Regions from separate parts of the Homo sapiens genome. Here regions 1, 2 and 4 are each linked to region 3. The links are contacts of gene promoters, found by promoter capture Hi-C in blood cells and fetal thymus (Javierre and others, 2016). All regions are on one chromosome and are shown on one strand. Each heading gives the region's core, a stretch centred on a gene start or on the middle of the fragment in contact. The rest is flanking DNA. Distances are from core to core; before and after follow the strand shown. Region 1 holds the start of RSU1 (Ras suppressor protein 1). Region 2 overlaps FRMD4A (FERM domain containing 4A). Region 3 holds the start of ACBD7 (acyl-CoA binding domain containing 7). Region 4 holds the start of PRPF18 (pre-mRNA processing factor 18).

Region 1 (2,700 bases), core at 146-2,645, 1.7 Mb after region 3:
GTCGATAATGGACAACCTGGAGAAGTGCGGAGAGGGTTTAAACCAAAGCCACGTCAGCCTGAAGAACTGCTTTAGCTCACTTATCACAGGTTTTTCAAATATTAGAATTAGTAGCCAACATCTAAAAATTAGCAAATTTCACATAAAAATATAGAATCTTGGTTCCTTTAAGAAAATAATCTGGCACATTGGGCCAACATTCCTATGGTGACATGTGTCTGAGTAGCAGGTGCAGCAGCTGGCCCCTTCAAGTGGGACACCTATCACCTAGTTCATAACCGCCCCTGACCGCCCTCACTTGGAGGCATGTGAATCTGCAATCCCTGGTTTTAAGGGAGAGGGTAACACCATAGACAGGGGTTACAGGAAAATGACACTGAAAGTGACCCAGTGATTAAACTGGGCAGTGAAACTGAAGGCAAGAGGGCAAGTTAGGAGGATTTCACCACAGCATGAGGAGGTGACAAAAGCCTGAACCAAGTTCGGAGAATAAATACTCAGAAGAATGTAAAGATTCAAGAAATGCTTAAAACGCTCCAGGCACAAGAATGCTTATTAACCATGGAACTTTTCTGTGTCATTTGTTCATGGACAAAGACTGTATTAGGAGACAGGAAGAAGGACTCAAAATTAATTTTCAATTTATAATTAAAGTGACTATTAAGCAAACTGTGGAAAATCCACCTCAATGCCATACAGCAGAGACAACCGATGAGGCACAGCTGTCTGTGTGATTCTCATCGTGGACTCTCAGGATCGTTTTCCAGGTGGAACAGAACAAATCCTACTGCAAACCCTCTGCGCGAAGCCCCTGACAAGTGAGGTTTACAAGCAGGGGCTGGGGTCTAAACCAGTACAATCGCTCACAGCAGGACCAGCAGTGAATTGGCAAACTTAGAAAGCCTTCCAGCTCATCCACGGGAGAGTCCTGCCCGAGAACTCACAGAGGCCGTTGACATCCAGCATGTTGGAGATGCCCCGGTCACTCATGTCCACCTCGGGCTGGTTCTTCTCCCGGCTCTCCTCCACCAACTTCTTCAGAGACTTGGACATGGTCTGCACCGAACAACAACAAAGCACGTGGGCGATGACAGCAAGCGCAGAGGCGGAAAGGCAAGAGGCCTTCGCTGCCACTCTGAGGCTTCCCCAGGGTTGGAGCGGGTGGGCGTCCGAGGGCGTCCCAGGGGCTGGTCCGGGTGCGGGGAGGGGATGGAGTGGGAAGGGTTCAGCCCCGCTGCGGCCACGCAGCGAGAAGCAACCCCAAGTGCAACACCGCACACACTCACCACGGAAGGTAGCCCCTAAGACGATGGGCGTGCAACCACAAGCTTCGGCAGAACGCACTCCAGCTGCCCTCACTCCCTGCAACACCGGCACTGAACAGCGAACACGCCCTGTCTCGGCGCCCCGCGCAGGCGCACACAGCGCCGCTGCCAGCTCCACGCCCGACCCTACCCATATTAGGAGAACAGCTCTCCAGACGTGTCTCCAGGGCCAGGCTCCGCCCTTAAAAGTCTGTGGAAGAGGCTGGCTAATCACGTTCGTTATTCGGCTTCGAGACCCCGCCCCACGCTGAGGATAGTTTATCCCGGTGGCGTCCACCCCACGGTTTGGGACGCTGATTGGGCCGAAGTTGGCGCGTGCGCAGTAGACTTGGCGCAAGCTCAGTTGATGGGTCGAAGCCCAGAGGGCTGTGGGCGGAAGTGGGGAAGTTTGTGGCGTGACTGTGTAAGGGAGGGTGGTGGCTCAGGGTGGGTGTTGCGAAAGCTGGAAGTAAATTGCTTCCGAATGTTTCGCTTGTGTAATAGCCGCTCCACTCGCCAGAAGTTGCTACCCTGAGCCCGTCTCCACAATGTGCCTCTGAGGGACCTTGTGGGGCACGCAGTTTCCCGCCCTATTAAGAGCTTCTCCAGGCGGGGATTCCGGCGCGGTCTGCGTTTCCCCAGCGCCCTGCTGGAAATCTTTTTTGACAGGTTTCTAAGGCTGGCTTTTAGCCTTTTTACTTGTAGCTAGAACCTACAAGTAAAACCCTACTATTTTAAAAGTCATTTGAAAACACCACTAAAGCGATGTGTCTTTCCCAACTAGGACTTTTACATTTGTGAAACATGACGTTCTGGCTTCCAGGAATCTCTTGCTTTCTCTTCCAAAAGCAACCAAATTTTAAATTCTAGAGAAACTGTTGCCCTCTGCCTCCCTATTTCCTGACCCAGTCTCAGTCACCCAGCAACATCCTGTGCTTCTCTCACCAAAAACCCTGTCCTGAGAGACTATTTTATACTATGGAATAAAAATTGGCACCAGGCACTTTTCTTCTACTGGTCACCTAAATTGATGATAAGACGGATGCCACACATATGCATTTATATATTGTAGATTGTAGCAGGGATCAAAGCCTTAAGGAGATGTGGTAAAATAATGTAATTATATCTCCGAACCAATTGGATAAAAAAAGGATCTGCACTCTTAAATTCGAAAGCAGGTATTTCTTGCTTAAAAAACATTCCAGATGAAAGAGTTATTCCTCCATTAGTCTTCTTTGATCTGGAACCGTCCTTGGCTTTTATGTTTATTGAACTAGACATTATTTAAGAATACAGACCAGGTATTGTGTGGAATATCCTTCAAAGTAAGTTTGATGTTCCCTTTCAGGTTATGAATTTTTGGAGAAACACCACTAAAGCGATGTGTCTTTTCCAG
Region 2 (2,708 bases), core at 41-2,540, 1.3 Mb before region 3:
TCACAGACACAAAACACCACATCTGGCTAATTTTTGTATTTTTAATAGAGATGGGGTTCCGCCATGTTGGCCAGGCTAGTCTCAAACTCCTGACCTCAGGTGATCCGCCTGCCTCGGCCTCCCAAAGTGCTGGGATTACAGGCATGAGCCACCACACACAGCCAACATGGATGAACCTTGAGGCCATTATGCTAGGTAAAGTAAGCCAGACACAAAAGGACAAATATATATGATTCCACTTATATGAAGTACTAGAGTGGTTAAATTCATGGAGACAAAAAGTAGTGGTTGCCAGTGGCTGAGGAAAACGGGGAAGGGGAAGTTGTTTAATGAGTACAGAGTTTCAGTTTAGCAGATGAAAAGAGCTCTTGGGTGAATGACGGTGGGGATGGTTATACAACATTGTGAGTGTACTGAATGCCGCTGAACTGCACACTTAAAAATGGCGGAGACTACAAACTGACTTCCGTGTATGCTGCTCGAGTGAAGGGTGCACCAAATTCTCACAAATCACAACTAAAGAACTTACTCATGTAACTAAATACCACCTGTTCCCCAAAAACCTATGGAAATATAAAAATATTTTCCAAAATGGTTAAGATAGTAAATGTATGTGCATTTTACAATTTTTTTTAAAAAAGAAACTGTCTCAAAGTGACAATAGCGTCCCTTTGAAAGATGCTGCTAGACCAACTAAAAATGGTCAAATATACACGTATTTGGTTATAAGAAGCTCATTCCTATCTGCAAGACCTGTCTAAGTTGACTGGTGCATTTGTCATACTTGTCTAGGCTTTTCACCTTTGTCTCAGTTGACAAAGAAATCTTTAAAATCAGGAGACCTTTAAAATAAGGTTAGGAAACATGTCCACAGAGCCAGAAACACAGCCATGGATCAAAGGAATCACATTATTATTATTATTATTATTATTCCTTTTTTTTTTTTTTGAGATGGAGTCTCCGCCTGTCACCAGGCTGGAGTGCAGTGGCGTGATCTTAGCTCACTGCAACCTCCACCTCCCAGGTTCAAGCAATTCTCCTGCCTCACCCTCCCAAGTAGCTGGGACTACAGGCATGTGCCACCATGCCTAGCTAATTTTTATATTTTTAGTAGAGACAGGGTTTCACCACGTTGGCCAGGATAATCTCAATCTCTTGACCACGTGATCCACCCGCCTCGGCCTCCCAAAGTGTTGGGATTACAGGCGTGAGCCAGCGCGCCGGGTCAGGAATCACATTATTAAATGGTGCCGTTAGCTTCATAACATTCCATTTATTTATAGTAATTAATTTATAAATGACTTCTCCTAATCAATAAAATGGCCTAAGGGGTAACACTTTGGAATTTCCAGCTTCAAATGATACTTTCAGGTTTCAGAGGGAAATTGAGGGAGAGGGAGTTCCTACCTTGTAGATGCAGGACTTCGCGTTCAGAAAGAAAAGCTCAATGGTAGCATTATCCTTCAGGTATGAAATGCTTTCTATATAGAACCTGAAAGAGAAAAATGGTGCGTGAACCACAGAAACAGCAGGTGCAGAAAATAAAGTGCTCTCTTGAGCTACATGATTTGAGATGAAAGCTGGCATTCCCCATCCTAAATAAACAAAGGAAAAAGGCACCATCCATGGTTTTTCTATGATTCCCTAGGGAGGACAAACTGTTTTTGGAGTTTTGATAGTGGCTTAGGGTCACGCCTAATGGGCCTCACCATAACCAAAGAACTGGGTCTACCACCAATTTGTAAGAACAAATTCTAAAACTAGGCCTCTGATTTCTTTGTCCTATCTGCTTTATAATTTTACATAATGTTATTTGTTTTCATCACATTGCTTGTTTGTCCTAAATTGTCATTGAGTTGGATTTTCTTTTCTTCTCCTTTTTTTTCTTTTTTTAGACAGGGTCTCGCTCTGTTGTCCAGGCTGGAGTGCAGTGGTGCATGGCTTACTGCAGCCTTGACCTCCCAGGCTCAAGCAACCTTCCCGCCTCAGCTTCCTGAGCAGCTGAGACTACAGTTGCATACCACCACGCCTAATTTTTTTTTTTTTTTGTAGATACGGAGTCTTCCTTTGTTGCTCAGGCTGGGCTCAAATTATCTGCCCACCTCAGCCTCCCGAAATGCTGGGGTAATAGATGTGAGCCACTGTGCCCAGCCAAGTTGGATTTTTAAAAGATAATTTCTTCTTAATCACAGCTTTCTTTGAAATGGTTACTACTACTCCCGAAGGTGGTGAAGTGTGATTTGATTTCTGCACATTCGGAGAGCTATGCTAAGTGCTCTTAACACTGTGATATGAATGCATATTAAGCCAAATGAGAATCGGATTTCATCTAGATGGAGCTTATAGATATTTTCAAGATGAAACATGCTGCCATTATTTAAGTTTACACTAAATGTGCCTTTATAATATTGACTTTGGAGTTTATTAAATTCTTTAATGAGATAATGCGCTTGTACTGTCTAATGACCAGCCGCACTGAAGGACTAGGAGTTGAAAGGAAGAGAGGGGAAAGGTTGAAATGCAACATCTTGGAGGGAAGAAGGTTCTGAGCAGGTGTAGCAACCCTTAGGGTGGACTAGGAGGGTGCTGGGTACCTGGGGCTCTTGGAAACTGGGTTCACCAAGAAGAGGCAGAAGGTGAGGAAGGTGAAATGAGAAGAAACAAGTACTACAGTTTTCTAGAATAGTGTTATAATCTGAGGGCCAGAA
Region 3 (2,823 bases), core at 3-2,502:
CCCAGCACTTTGGGTGTCCAAGGCGGGTGGATCACTTGAGGTCAGGAGTTGGAGACCAGTCTGGCCAACACAGCGAAACCCCATCTCCACTAAAAATAGAGAAAAATAGCCAGGAGTGGCGGCGCACGCCTATAATCCCAGCTATTTGGGAGGCTGAGATAGGAGAATCACTTGAACTTGGGAGGCGGAGGTTGCGGTGAGCTGAGATTGCACCACTGCACTCCAGCCTGGGTGACAGAGTGAGACTCCATCTCAAACAGCCTGGGTGACAGAATGAGACTCCATCTTAAAAAAAAAAAAAAAAAATTACAAAAATCAGCCGGGCGTGGTGGCGTGCACCTGTAACCCCAGCTACTGCGGAGGCTGAGACATGAGAATCGCTTACACCTGGGAGGTGGAGGTTGCAGTGAGCAGAGGTTGCAGTGAGCAGAGATCGCACCAACTGCGCCTCAACCTGGGCAACAGAATGAGACTCTGTCTCAAAAAAGAAAAATAAAATTACATTTTAGAATATTTAATAATGAGAAAATGCTCATATTACTGTTTTACGTGTAGGAATAAAACTATATACACAATAACATCATAGGTATGTGTGTAGATATATGCCACACACATACACACATGGAAAATAACATACTAGGACATACTAGGAATTACCCTAGCATGTAGCAGTGATTATCACCTGGGTGAAGGAATTATCATTGGATTATTATCAGTAATTATTACTTTATATTTGTTGTCTTTTCCAAAGTTTTCCACCCTTAACAATTTTTTTCACATACCTATAAAACAGTATTTTTAAATTGGAGCCTCACAGATCTCTTCTGCTCAGTATGACACTAAGAGAGGTCCTGGAGGTCCCAACGAGCGAAGGGGCGGGAGCGGGGGATCTCGACTCCCTCTCGGAGACGGAGAGGAGGAGGCCCGCTCCGTGCTCCCCGGCGCTCCTGCCTTGCCTGCTTTTCCGCTCACCCGGCCCCTGGGGTCCGGAAGGGTTGCCCTGGGAGCCCTGGCTCGCCGTCAGCAGGCACAGGTGCGGTCTACACTGCCATCTGGGGCGCTGGGGAAGGAGTGGGCGTGTCCCCCGGGTCACCGCCGACCGCTCCCAGGGGCGCCAAGCCCACCCGGAGCCCCACTTAAGCACTCCCCTCGCGGAGCGCCCCTCCCGCGTGGCCTCCCCGCGCCCCGGGTACCTGCAGGGCCATGGTGGCGGCTGCCGCGTTGTTGCTGCTGCTGTTGTCGTCCGGTGCTCTGCCCCCTCTCGCACCCACCGCTTCTTAAACGGCCGCGTCTCCTCCGGCCGCTGCCATTGGCCGCGCTCCCGGCCCGGCCGCCTCCCATTGGTCGCGGGCGCGGGGGCGAGGCTGGGCGGTGAGCGGTACTGCACGCCGGGTTCCCCAGGCTGCAAATGGAAAGGCGAAGACAGGAGAATTTAAATGAGTTTCTCTCCGCTCTTGGCTCTCTCTTCTATTCTTTCTCAAGCGGTTCTTTGCAGGAAACCCAGAGAGGTCTCCGTAGGGCACAGGCCTCCCCTGGAATGCCTTCGAAAGAAAGAAAGAAGGAGAGAGACAGAGAGAGAGAGAGAGAGAGAAAAAATATATATATATATAGAGAGAGAGATATATATTTATCTAGAGAGACCCGCCCCAACTCTCTTAAAATACATATGTAATTTTTTCAATTTAAAAAAATTTATACATGTAAATATGTATTGGCCGGGCGCGGTGCCTCACGCCTGTAATCCCAACACTTTGGGAGGCTGAGGCCGGCAGATCACCTGAGGTCGGGAGTTCGAGACCAGCCTGACCAACATGGAGAAACCCTGTCTCTACTAAAAATACAAAATTAGCCGGGTGTGGTGGCGCATACCTGTAATCCCAGTTACTCGGGAGGCTGAGGCAGGAGAATCGCTTGAACCCGGGAGGTGGAGGCTGTGGTGAGCCAAGATTGCACCATTGCACTCCAGCCTGGGCAACAAGTGTGAAACTCCGTCTCAAAAAAAAAAAAGAATAAGTAAATATGTATTTAAAATTTTATAAATTAAAAATTTATATATATAAATTTTTTTCAGAGGTTGGGGTCTTCCTAGGTATATATATATTATATATTTTTTCTCTAAAAATTATATATAAATTTATATATATTTAAAATGTTAAAAATTAAAAATTTTATAAATTAAAAGTGCAAATTAAAAAATATATATATATGTGTTTTTTTTTTTTTTAAGAGAGGTGGTGGGGGGGGCGTCTCACTAGGTTGCCCAGGCTGGTCTCGAACTCCTGACCTCAAGCGATCCTCCCACCTCGGCTTCCCGAAGCACAGGATTCCTTCTTTATACATACTTCTCTCATGTCCATTATTCCTAGAAACGTGGATGATGGATGTGTCTCCTCCACGCTGCCTCCAGGCGCTGTTTATCATGAGAGAAAGTGGCCTGTGGTTTGCACCTCTTCTCTTTATAAAGCAAAACCACCTAAATTCTGGACACATGCTATAATCAGCTTAACTTGTTTTTAATTATGGTAAAGGCACAGGACTAAACGCCTATTCAATTTGACTCAGTTTTCTAGGGGAACAAACCCAATGTCACTCCAAGTCTGCAGACACACCGAATAGGATTACATTTCCAAAGGACTGGAACCGAATTGGGTGGTCACATGAGAAGCTAATTTCCGACACTTCGCATAAATAGTAGCATTGGTGGAGAAGGGTGACTGGGAGAAAAAAGAAACTCAATGTCAGCAAAGTGACTGAGCTTCAACGTACAACAATGCAACAAGAAACCTTTCAGCTTGCTTTTGCATAAAGCTACATTTTTAAAAT
Region 4 (2,739 bases), core at 240-2,739, 1.5 Mb before region 3:
TTACACTGACAGTTTCCCAGGTAGCCAGCCGTTGTGTTCTCTGTAAACTTCCATTGCTGTTACTGTCATCTGTCTTAACCCTTCAGGTTTTTTTTGTGTCTAACAATCCCTAATCCCTAAATCAGGAAAATGCTAATAAATTATTATTTGCTCATTGATTAGTGAGGGAAACCCATATTCATGCAAGAGTGTTGCCATATTTAGTTCAAGGACATTTTCCTGTGTTGGCTTATTTCTGGCAAAAGTCAGGTATATTTTATTTTATTTTGTTTTGTTTTTGAGACAAAGTCTTGCTCTATCACCCAGGCTGGACTGCAGTGGCATGATCCCGGCTCACTGCAACCTCCATCTCCCGGATTCAAGCAATTCTCCTGTCTCAGCCTCCTGAGTAGCTAGGACTATAGGCACCTGCCACCACGCCTGGCTAATTTTTGTATTTTTAGTAGAGACGGGATTTCACCATGCTGGCCAGGCTGGTCTTGAACTCCTGACCTCAGGTGATCTGTCCACCTCGGCCTCCCAAAGTTCTGGGATTACAGGGGTGAGCCACCCCGTCTGGCCTCAGATATCTTTTAGATGAAGTATCACCCCCCACAAAAGACTTTCTAAATTGAAATAATTCAATTGTTCATTTTTTTGTTTTGTAAAGCATTTTACCCATTATCAGCTGACTCAACAAAATGATATTTCTTACCTTTTTTGAGTAAGAAAAACGAAATGTCAAATATTGTTCAATTATGATTTCACAAAAACAATTTTTAAACGTGCTTCAATGACATGAAAAAAATAAGTCCACTGTAAACAAATGTTAGGGACTTAAAAAATCTCTGACATAATTTTTCTCTTCAATTTAACTTTTTTTCCCTTGGGTTGGATTTAAAAAAAAAAAAGGAATTTCTGATTACATCTCCAATCATGTCACTGAAAAATCTTGATTGCTGAACACATGACCAAAAAATGATTAGTTAGCTTGAGGTAAATGTTCAATTATCACCAAGATTGGTAAGCAATCTAAAACAGAGGGAGTGAAGATAAATTGACTTCCAAACTGCTTTAAATGGTTGTAGTCGTTTAAGTTCACAGGAAATTTAACAGGCTAGTAATGAACAGACAGCCCTTTCACTCTATTGTTACAAGTTAGTATTATTGTTTAGATTTTTCTCATCCTTTTGCAAATTTTGCAAGCAAGTAACTTCAGAAACCCTAATGTAAATTTCCAGTTAATAAAGATCTTGATTTAACTGGCATTATTGAGGTGTTCTTCGAGAGGCTTTTGGAACTCAACTAGCAGGTGCAGAGAGTACTACAAAGACCCGGGTTTCCGTCCACGTTCACGTAAACCTCCCTACGAGGGGAAACTACAGGCGCGCTGCCGGAGGGCGCCGCCAGTGGGCACTCACGCACAGCTGCTTTGGCCACCACAGGCGCCCCGGGCCACTCTCTTCCCTCATCTCTCTCATCCCAGCTTCCGCCGGAAGCGGCTCCTGTCAGTTGTTCTCAGGTGTTTGGGCTTGTTGTTCCGTATACTCAGTGGGTTCGCGGCCGCCGGCCCAGTGAGGCTGGGTTCGAGGAGCTGGAGCGGGAAACTGGAGCTTAAATTCTGGCGGCGAGATGGACATTCTGAAATCAGAGATCCTTCGGAAGCGGCAGCTGGTGGAGGACAGGAACCTGCTGGTGGTGAGGACCCTGCGGTCGTGGGGGTCGGGATGTAAGAGTGAGAGTATGTGTGTCGGGGTTTTGGGGTGAGGGTGACGATACTCAGAGGATTCGGGGCGGGGACGGGGCTTAGCGAGTGTCCTGCCACTACCCCTGGTAGGCCCCCTTAGATCCAACCCTTGGCGTCTCACTGTTGAGGCTGGAGAATAGGGTCTGAGAGCAGGGAACTTGAGTACAATTCGTGCTGACTTCCCAAAGCTGGATCAAAAGGAAAACACCTGGGTCTGGGGGCGGGAACCTGAGGCCAATTAACGCCCACGTCCAAAAGCCAAACCAAAAGAAAAATCCTCATCTTCCCACCACCGAGTAGCAAAGGCTTCAGGCTGCGGCTCTCCCCGCATCCCTGCCTTTCCACCACCTCTCAGATGGGAAGGGAACGTGCCCTGCATTGGCCGTGGGCCAATCACGGGCCATCCCTTCATCTGCATAGGGCGCCAGTTCACCTCAGTCTTTAGCCACAGACCGAACCCTTCATCCAGATACGGGGTAGCTGATAGGGACCTCAGAAGGAGTACCTAAAACCCGGAAAACTTTGTAACCGGGGCCTCGAGCCGCTTGCTCGGGCCCACTCACACCCTGTGGAGTGCTTTCTCGCGTTCATAAGTCCCTACTTTTGCTGCTTCATTCCTGTGTTTTGTTACTTTTTTTGTGCGTTTTGTCCAATTCTTTGTTCAAAACGCCAAGGACCCGGGCAACTTACACTCACGGCCTTCTTTCCGGTAACCACTTGGGAGCCTTAGGGATGCAGGTGTGGGAATTGCAGGAAAACCCGAGGCTTTGTTTGTTTTCCCCCGACTGACCCTGTTTCCCTCCAGTTTACCTAACTGCCCCCTATCCCCGCTCCTACCTGTTGGCATTCTGCGGACGTGCCCCAGTGCTCCTGAGAGTTCCCTTCTGTCGCCTTACGAAGGGTTTGTGCCCAACTGAAACATGGAGGAAGGGCCGCCGGGCGCGGTGGCTCACACCTGTAATCCCCACACTTTGGTGGGCAGATCACCTGAGGTCAGGAGTTCGAGACCAGCC

Evidence for each region. The method cuts DNA at HindIII sites, captures the fragments that hold promoters and counts their contacts. A CHiCAGO score of 5 or more calls a contact.
Region 1: the fragment with the promoter of RSU1 here is called in contact with the fragment with the promoter of ACBD7 in region 3 in 5 of 17 cell types (fetal thymus, neutrophils, activated CD4 T cells and 2 more); the score reaches 9.2 in fetal thymus.
Region 2: a fragment that was not itself captured here is called in contact with the fragment with the promoter of ACBD7 in region 3 in 1 of 17 cell types (total B cells); the score reaches 5.7 in total B cells.
Region 4: the fragment with the promoter of PRPF18 here is called in contact with the fragment with the promoter of ACBD7 in region 3 in 1 of 17 cell types (total B cells); the score reaches 7.3 in total B cells.

The regions. Positions count from the first base shown.
Region 1 is chr10:16,816,029-16,818,728 of GRCh38, forward strand. It overlaps RSU1 (Ras suppressor protein 1), which reads right to left and starts at 1,396. Exons shown (of 9, transcript NM_012425.4): 1 at 1,287-1,396; 2 at 945-1,056. The coding sequence starts at 1,053. It overlaps LOC105376435 (a long non-coding RNA gene), which reads left to right and starts at 1,671. Exons shown (of 3, transcript XR_930708.3): 1 at 1,671-1,728; 2 at 2,653-2,700. RefSeq lists enhancers at 875-1,034, 1,705-1,814, 1,845-1,934, 1,965-2,014. The HindIII fragment of the contact is 3,392 bases long and covers 1,327-2,700 here.
Region 2 is chr10:13,781,515-13,784,222 of GRCh38, forward strand. FRMD4A (FERM domain containing 4A) reads right to left here. Exons shown (of 25, transcript NM_018027.5): 6 at 1,408-1,492. Among named protein-coding and RNA genes, the nearest start is that of PRPF18, 200 kb to the left of the region's middle. The HindIII fragment of the contact is 4,685 bases long and covers 1-2,708 here.
Region 3 is chr10:15,087,524-15,090,346 of GRCh38, forward strand. It overlaps ACBD7 (acyl-CoA binding domain containing 7), which reads right to left and starts at 1,253. Exons shown (of 4, transcript NM_001039844.3): 1 at 1,194-1,253. The coding sequence starts at 1,205. It overlaps ACBD7-DCLRE1CP1 (ACBD7-DCLRE1CP1 readthrough), which reads right to left and starts at 1,253. Exons shown (of 8, transcript NR_144471.1): 1 at 1,194-1,253. RefSeq lists a silencer at 1,038-1,427. The HindIII fragment of the contact is 6,812 bases long and covers 1-2,823 here.
Region 4 is chr10:13,585,476-13,588,214 of GRCh38, forward strand. PRPF18 (pre-mRNA processing factor 18) reads left to right here and starts at 1,490. Exons shown (of 10, transcript NM_003675.4): 1 at 1,490-1,677. The coding sequence starts at 1,612. RefSeq lists enhancers at 1,445-1,784, 1,960-2,555. The HindIII fragment of the contact is 3,512 bases long and covers 1-2,739 here.